2 separate regions of the Homo sapiens genome follow, and region 1 is linked to region 2. The links are contacts of gene promoters, found by promoter capture Hi-C in human tissues and cell types (Jung and others, 2019). All regions are on one chromosome and are shown on one strand. Each heading gives the region's core, a stretch centred on a gene start or on the middle of the fragment in contact. The rest is flanking DNA. Distances are from core to core; before and after follow the strand shown.

Region 1 (4,149 bases), core at 6-2,505, 970 kb before region 2:
ATTTATAGAACTTTTACCTCAAGCCAAGAACTATGCTAAATATTTTTAGGAGCAGTTTGGTGAATAGTTAAAGAGCTTGGGTTTTGCCTAAAGTCAAGTACTGGATCGACCACTGGCCAGCTTCTTGTTTCCTCATGTGCAAACTGGGATGATATAAATTGTTCAAAGGCTGGGCAGAGTGGCTCACACCTGTAATCCCAGCACTTTGGGAGGCTGAGGTAGGAGGATCAGTTGAGCCCAGCAGTTCTAGACTCACCTGGGTACGATGGTGAGACCTGTCTCTACAGAAAATTAAAAAATTAGCCAGGCGTGGGGACCTGTGGTCTTAGCTGCTTAGAAGGCTGAGGCGAGAGGATCGCTTGAGCTCAGGAGTTCGAGGCTGCAGTGAGCTGTGATTGCACCGCTGCACTCCAGCCTGGACAACAGAGCAAGACCTTGTCTCAACAAAAAGAAATAAATAAATAGTTTGAGTAATGTTAGTGGTTATAAAAAGGTGTGTCACAGAGACCAGCCTGGGCAACAAAGCCAGACTCTGTCGCAACAAAAAAATTTTAAAAATTAGATGGGCATGGTGGCACATGCCTGTGGTCTCAGCTACTCAGGAGGATCCCTTGAGCCTAGGAGTTGGAGGCGGTAGCGAGCTATGATGACATCATTCTCACTGCAACCTCCACCTACAAGTTTCAAGTGATTCTCCTGCCTAAGCCTCCTGAGTAGCTGGGATTACAGGCGTGTGCCACCACACCTGGCTAGTTTTTGTATTTTTGGTAGAGACGGGGTTTCACCATGTTGGCCAGGCTGGTCTCGAACTCCTGACCTCAAGCGATCCACCTGCCTTAGCCTCCTAAAGTGCTGGGATTACAGCGTGAGCCACTGCGCCTGGTCTAGGATTTCCTCTTTACAGATGAGAAAACTGCGGTGCAGAGTGTGAAGTGGGTTTTTGTCTGCAGCCTCCAGTCTCCAGTTCACAATCTCAAATCCAGTCTCTAACTTACCCCTAGTTTCTTTTTTCTTTTTTTTTTTGAGGCAGTCTCGCTCTGTCACCCAGGCTGGAGTGCAGTGGCACGATCTCAGCTCACTGCAAGCTCCTCCTCCCGGGTTTACGCCATTCTCCTGCCTCAGCCTCCCGAGTAGCTGGGACTATAGGCACCCGCCGCCACGCCTGGCTAATTTTTTGTATTTTTAGTAGAGACGGTGTTTCACTGTGTTAGCCAGGATGGTCTCAATCTCCTGACCTCGTGATCCACCCACCTTGGCCTCCCAAAGTGCTGGGATTACAGGCGTGAGCCACAGCACCCGGCTGTTTTGTTGTGTTTTGAGACAGGGTCTTGCTCTGCAGCCAAGGCTGGAGTGCAGTGGTGCCATCACGGCTCACTGCAACCTCTGCCTTCTAGGCTCAAAGGATCCTCCTACCTAAGCTTCCCAAGTATTGGGGACCACAGGTGTGTACCACCACACCCAGCTAATTTTTTGTATTTTTTTTTTGTAGAGATGGAGTTTTGCTGTGTTGCCCAGACTGGTCCTGCACTCCTGGACGCAAGCAATCCGCCCACCTTGGCCTCTCAAAGTGCTAGGATTACAGGCGTGAGCCACTGTGCCTGGCCTTACTCTGGGTTTCTTTCTAATCCTCTCAGATGCCTCCATAAAAAACAATCCTCCCCAAGCCCTAATGGATAAACTCCAAGCTCCTTAGATGACAAAAATCTTTCTAATCTTTTACCTTGACATTTGAATATGGAGGGAAGATTAAACTCTAATAATTAGAGGCTGGAAGATAATTAAAGTGTGACAATAGCACTGTGGTGCTGGAAGAGAAAAGTCCTTTTTCTTGGGACTTGCCGAAGGTGTCTGTGGGTGTGCAACTCCATTTCAAATAGTTTAGGAAGTCTGGGCGCAGTGGCTCATGCCTGTAATCCAGCACTTTGGGAGGCCAGATCACTTGAGGTCAGACCAGCCTGCCCAATATGGTGAAACCCCATCTATACTAAAAATACACACACACAAAATTAACCAGATGTGGTGGCAGGCACCTGTAATCCCAGCTACTCAGGAGGCTGAGGCAGGAGAATCCCTTGAACCCAGGAGGTGGATGTTGCAGTGAGCCAAGATCACGCCACTGTATTCCGGCCTGGGTGACAGAATGAGACTCTGTCTCAAATAAAAACAAACAAACAAAAAACCCAAATAGTTTAGGAGAACAAAAACAAAATCTATTTGTGTATGTGTATGTGCATAGATAAACCAATTACAAAACACAATCACAATTTTAAAATCAGGAATATGGCTGTTGGCCAGGTGCAGTGGCTCAGGTGTAATCCCAGCACTTTGGGAGGCTGAGGCTGGTGGATCGCTTGAGTCCGGGAGTTCGGGACCAGCCTGGGCAACATGGCGAAACTCTATCTCTACCAAAAATACAAAAATTAGCCAGCCTTATAACCCGGTCTCAAAATAAATAAATAAATAGATAGATAGCTACAAACTTAAAAATAAAAAAAGAAAAGGAATATGGTTGTTCACACGACTATTAACTTTTCTGTTTAAAAATTTTTATAATAAAAAGTTAAAAAGTATATTGAGGACCTACACATTGAAGTAAGCAGCCATGATGTATGTAAGCTAACTTCAAATGGGTCAGAAAAAAAACATTGTGTGTCTGTGAACAGAGGACGGTAGGTGTACTGGTGTCCTTTCAATTTTTCTGTAAGTTTAAGATCATTTCCAGATAAAAAGTTAAGCTGGACTCAATGGCTCATACCTGTTGCCCCAGCTATTTGAGGGGCTAAAGTGAGGGGATTCCTTGAGCCCAGGGGTTCAAGGGTACAATGAGCTATGATCAGGCCACTGCACTCCAGCCTGGGTGACAGAGCGAGACCTTGTCTCTATGTTTGTTTTTTTTTTAATGAAAAAAAAAATCCTGGCACACCTAAGACTTTAATATTTAGAAAACAATCTAAACAAAAAAAAATGAGAAAAAAGAAAGCAAATTAAATCAATTTTACAGGTTTGTCTTTTTCATGGAAGCAAAACTTAACCAGTTAAATTGGTTTTTAAGACATGGGAGAGTCTGGACGTGGTGGCTTATACCTGTAATCTCAGCACTTTGGAAGGCTGAGGTGGGAGGACTGCTTGAGGCCAGGAGTTCAACATCAGCCTGGCCAACATGGCAAAACCTTGTCTCTACCAAAAATACAAAAATTAGCAGGGCATGGTGGCAGGCGCCGGTAATCCCAGCTACTCAGGAGGCTGGGGCAGGAGAATCACTGTGGGCCACGATCTTGGTCCCAGGCACCATGAACCCGGGAGGTGGAGTGGCGGTTGCAGTGAGCTGATACCACGCCACTGCACTCCAGCCTGGGCAATGGAGTCAGACTTCATCTCAAAGAAAAAAAGACATGGGAGAAAAAAACAAAACTAAAATTAACAGCAGACCATTCCAATCTGCGAACAAAAGTAAGACCTTGTCTCTACAAAAATATCAAAAAATTAGCCAGGTGTGGTGGTGCATGCCTGTAGTCCCAGCCGCTTGGGAGGCTGCAGTGGGGAGGATCACTTGAACCCAGACTGAGGCTGCAGTGAGCCATGGTTGCACCACTGCACTCCAGCCTGGGTGACAGAAAGTCTCAAAAAAAAAAAAAAAAAGTGAACCATTCTGAAATCGCAAGTTTACTCGTGTATTACTTTTCCATTTCAGAGCTTGAGGAAAAAAGCCATAAATGATTTTGCTTCCTACCCTCCAACTAGGTCTGGCCTCCAGGCCTCTTTGCTTGCTTTGTCCTCTGCCTGGAGTGTAATTACAATCATCAGGCAGCCCTCCCTCATGCCACTTCCCTTTCCAGGGAGGCAATTTGTGTCATGAAACACACTTGAGGTCAGGAGTTCGAGACTAGCCTGGCCAACATGGCGAAACCCTGTCTCTACTAAAAATACAAAAATTAGCTGGGCATGGTGGTGCACACCTGTAGTCCCAGCTACCTGGGAGGCAGAGGCAGGAGAATCACTTGAGGCAGGAGAACCACCTCCGGGAGGCGGAGGTTGCAGGGAGCCAAGATCACGCCACTGCACTCCAGCCTGGGCATCAGAGCAAGACTCTATCTCAAACAAACCTCAAAATAACTATAAATAAATAAATAAATAAATAAATGATTATAC
Region 2 (4,585 bases), core at 312-2,811:
CCGCAGCAGCCAGGGTGCCAGGCGCCCGGCAATGACGTAGCCACCCCCGCTTGCATAGGCTGGGTAGCCACCTTCGAAGAAGGACTCGGGCACATAGAAGGGTCCTCCTGGCTTCCGGAGAGGCATGGCCTGGGTAAAGACCTCACCCAGGTAGAGGCTTCGGGCCGAGGCAGGTGGCAGGGCCCGCAGGTGAGCCAGCAGGGCAGGGGTGTGTACAAAGGCATCGTCCTGAGCTCGCAAGACAAAACTCACGGTGGGGCAGTGGCGGCCCAGCCAGGCCAGCAGCAGCAGGTCTTTGAGCGTCTGGTTGAATGGGACGTCGAGGAAGTCCCAGAGCAGCAGGTCACTGTAGCGACGGCTCTCCCAGGCCACTAGTGAGTCTAGGTCAGGCCCCGCCTCACCCACCGGAGACCCTAGCAGGAAGAGCAGCCGGATCCCTGGAGCTGGACTGCCCCACGTCTCTCTCACGGCCTGTCGTTCTGCAAAGCGCCCTGGTTCTGACTTGACGGCCAACAGCAGGTAGGGGACATCAGTATCTGAGCAGCTGGAGACTTGGCTGCCACCACCTCCAGGCAGCCACTGTGGGAAGCTCCGGCAGGCTGCTGACAGCAAGAAGCGGCGGAGGTCCTTGGGGTAGGAGGCGAAGTCAGGGATCTCGGTGGCGGCGGCGGCCCCCCAAGCCTGGCAGCCCCCCGTTTCAGTGCTGTCCCCACTGGGCAGGGACCCCAGCCGCCACTGCTGCTGGTTCCAGTAAGCAAAGGGCAGCGGGATAGTCTGGCCCAGGCGGGTGGAGAGGTTGGCAGGTAGGGTGGGCTCAGGGTTGGCTGGCGTGGGGCTTGGCGGGGTGCCCCGAGGGCTGGGGTAGGCCTTGCTGAGCCGGGACTCGGATGTCCACTCGATGTACACTTTGAGGCCCAGGAGTGTGAGCAGTGCTGACAGGCAGAGAAGGCACTTGGGGCAGCGCATGACCCGGCCCAGGGAAGGGGCGGCCGCGGGAGCTACAAGGGAGCCACAGGGGAGCCACGGAGGCCATTGGGGTGTGGGGATGGGCCTCCAGAGAGGGCCCAGCCAGGCCCCAGGCAGACAGCTTCACAATCTCCCATAGTCCCCGCCAACCCCCATAACAGATTCTCTCGGTCCCAGATCCTAAACAGCTCCCCTGACCCAGGGACCTCGTTGGTCCTTATTCCTAGACCTAGGAGTCCCCCATTCCAATCCCGTACCAGCACCCTGTTCTTCCCACTCCGTCCAAATGCTTCCACCTTCCTAAAAGCCCAAGGGTCTACCTCTTCCCTGTCTCCATCCAGGACAAGGGACCTTGCCGTCTATCTCCTCCCTCTCCCTCCATTTATTGCCCTCACCAGGAAATCAGGAGCGGGATTCCTAGCTCCCTGGGGTTAGAAACCCAGCCTGCCTCCCGCAACACCCCAACCCCAGGGACTGGGGAACCAGGGATCCCATGCTTTTTTACCTCTGGGTCTGGCTCCCGCCAGCTCCGGGTGCCGGCCTCAGGTCAGGCCTCCCTCAGCTCCCTCTGATCTGCCTGCCCCAGCCCCTGTGTTGTCGACCGGCGGGGCCCAGCCCTGCCCAGCCAGTCCAGAGGGGCGGGGAGGGGAGTGGAGCGGGAGCAGGGAGGGCCCCAGGGGCCGGGGCGGGGCTGAGGCAGGAGAGAGGGAGGGAGGGAGGGAGGGAGGAGGGCAGGAGGCCGACCTGAGAGATGGGGCTCTGGCGTGTTAGGGCTGGTTTCTGGTGAGACAGCTGGGAAGGGTGCAGGGGGCAGCCACAGAAACAAGACGGGGGCTTTGTGAGGCCTGGGAGGGGAGAACCAGGGCCAGGGGGTGCCAGGGAGGGTGGGGCTGAAGGCTGGGCCTGGGCTGGGGAGTGTTAGAGTGACCAGGGCGAGGCAGGGTCCCACTGAGGCAGAGATGGGGAGGCTGAGAGGCTGGCGCCCGGCTGCACCCATGGCCAGGAGGCGGCAGTGAATGTGCTGAGTGGGAAGGGATCGGCGGGCCTGCCAGAGGGATGTTTGTTGTTGCTGCCCAGTCAGGGTGAGGTGGGGGGAACGGGGCTGGTGAGGAGAAGGAGAGACAGAGACATTGTGGAGAGGGAAGAGACGGCCAGGGAGCAGAGAGAGGAGAACTGGGGTGAGACAGGCGATGGAGAGAGCTGAGGGGGAGAGAGAGAGAAGACGGGCAAGTGGGAAGGTGGCCAGGAGGGAGAGGGGGAGGGAAATGGAGATGGCGAGAAAGATAAGGGGTTGCGGAAGCCCTGTGGGGTGCTCATGGGGAAAGAGAGGTTGAGAGAGGCAGGTGGAGGGCAGAGGGGAGGGACTCAGGCTTCCGAGCCAGACCCAGGCAGAGGCGGAGAGGGAGCCAAGGGGAAGAACAGGAGAGGAAAAGACTGGAGCTTCAAGGGCAATAGAGGGTGACGGGGTGGGGCCCACGGGGAACCCCGGGAGCTAAGCTGATCCCCTGTACCTCCTCCATCCCTCTCGGCACCCGGGCTGCCTGCCCAGCAGCGTGGGAATCTGTTCCTACCTTACCCCCAACCTCCGGCCTGGAGCCAGCCTCACCCCGGGCCCCTCCCCTCCCCCAGCGGCACTGTGACTCCAGGAACACTCACATCCAGCCCCTTGGGGCAGGAGGGGGTGTCTGCCTGTGTTTGCATCCCTGCCCTCCAGGGGCCCCTGCTGTTGGGACTGCATCAGCTCTCTGAAGACCTCCCAAGACATGGGGTAAGACTAAGGGGCTCCCACTAAGCCTGGGCTGACCCCTTCACTCCACCCTGGTTTGGGGCAGGCCTGTCCCCATCATGGCAGGAACACAGTCTGTCAGCAGCAGCAGTTGATGATCTGTCCAGCCCTGATTTCCTCCCCCAAAGTTTGAATAATGGAGCCTGTGGGAACAGCTGGAGGAAGAGAGTGGGGAGGAAGTGGTGAATATTAATGGAATAATAGTTGGAGTGGGAAATGACAGCTAGGGGCTGGGGGCAGGGGCCCGAGCACCTCCTGAGGGAGTCTGCAAGCCCACTCCACTCTGGGGCTGGGGGAGAGGGACTCCAGGCCCCCTGAGCTCATCTAGCTTCTGGGGGCAGGGGGTGCTGCTCCTCCTGGAAGCATTAGGAAGCTTCACAAGGTGCCTTTCTTTTTGCCTTTGCCATGTGCCTCAGTCCGGGTCCAATCAGGAGAGAGAAACCACACAGGAATGGGAATAGGGAAAGTTCAATATACAGAATGATTAACTCTCATGGGATTGGCCACTAAGGGGTGCCTTCTTGGGGAACATGGTTGGAGGGTGGACATGCTGGTGGAACACGATCATTCCAATCCAACACTTCTGTCTCCCCAAGCCTTGGGACTCCCCTCACCCATCTTATGCTAGGGCAGTTCTGGTCTCTCTGCCTCATTAACTTTAGGCCACTGTTGGATCCAAGTTCCGGTTAGGCACCCAAGCAAGCTATTAGAACTACGTCCAGCTGCACAAGGTAACCCATGAAATCCAGAAGCTCTAGAAAGCGCACTCATGCCAGTAAATTTGGCCTGAGCTAGTGTTACATCCACCCTCATTGGTGTAACATCCTTAAAATCCCCTTCTGCACACATTCCCCAAGTTTCTGACTCTGTATATTTGCGAAGCCTTGTCATTCTTATAGTGTAAAAGCTGCTCCCGCCTAGGTCCTAGCTGGCACCTGTTCACCTGGAGCAAGCTGATTTCACCCTAGGTATTTATGGGTCTAGAGGCAGCAAGGGGCGCTGTGGTGAGTCTTAAGAAGAATGGGGTGTATCTGTTATTTCTGTATAAGAGCTGGCCATAAGAAAAAAAAAACTGTGGTGGGACAGTGGCTCACCCCTGTAATCCCAATACTCTGGGAGGCCAAGAGGGAAGGATCACTTTCCAGGAGTTCAAGACCAGCCTGGGCAACATAGTGAGATCTTACCGCTAATCAAAAAAAAAAAAAAAAAAAAAAGGACGACCACTTTCAAGGTGTCTGCCCCTGGTGAGGTCATCACAAGGTTTTTTTTTTGAGACGGAGTCTCACTCTGTCACCCAGGTTGGAGTGCAGTGGCATGATCTCCGCTCACTGCAAGCCTCACCTCCCAGGTTCACGCCATTCTCCTGCCTCAGCCTCTCAAGTAGCTGGGACTACAGACGCCCGCCACCATGCCCGGCTAATGTTTTTGTATTTTTAGTAGAGACAGGGTTTCACTATTTCTACTAAAGTAGAGTACTTAGGCAGGATGGTCTTCATCTCCTGACCTTGTGATCCACCCGCCTCGGCCTCCCAAAGTGCTGGGATTACAGGCATGAGGCACTGCACCCGGCCTCTGTTTTTTTTTTTGAGATGGAGTCTTGCACTGTCGCCAAGGCTGGTGTGCAGTGGTGCAATCTCGGCTCACTGCAACCTCTCCGCCTCCTGGGTTCAAGAGATCCTCCTACTCGGGAGGGTTCAGCCTTCCGAGTAACTAGGATTACAGGTGCTCGCCACCACGCCTGGCTAATTTTTTGCATTTTTAGTAGAGATGGGGTTTTACTATGTTGGCCAGGCTGGTTTTGAACTCCTGACCTCATGATCCGCCTGCCTTGGC

The links. Contacts are between HindIII fragments. The study calls those that stand out against the background at their distance.
Region 1: a fragment that was not itself captured here is called in contact with the fragment with the promoter of B3GNT8 in region 2 in 1 of the 25 tissues and cell types used here (dorsolateral prefrontal cortex).

What each region holds. Positions count from the first base shown.
Region 1 is chr19:40,453,543-40,457,691 of GRCh38, forward strand. All of the region lies in intron 3 of BLVRB (biliverdin reductase B), which reads right to left. Among named protein-coding and RNA genes, the nearest start is that of BLVRB, 10 kb to the right of the region's middle. The HindIII fragment of the contact is 7,951 bases long and covers 1-4,149 here.
Region 2 is chr19:41,425,813-41,430,397 of GRCh38, forward strand. B3GNT8 (UDP-GlcNAc:betaGal beta-1,3-N-acetylglucosaminyltransferase 8) reads right to left here and starts at 1,562. Exons shown (of 2, transcript NM_001385648.2): 1 at 1,472-1,562; 2 at 1-998. The coding sequence starts at 966. RefSeq lists silencers at 1,603-1,712, 1,733-1,882. The HindIII fragment of the contact is 6,844 bases long and covers 1-4,135 here.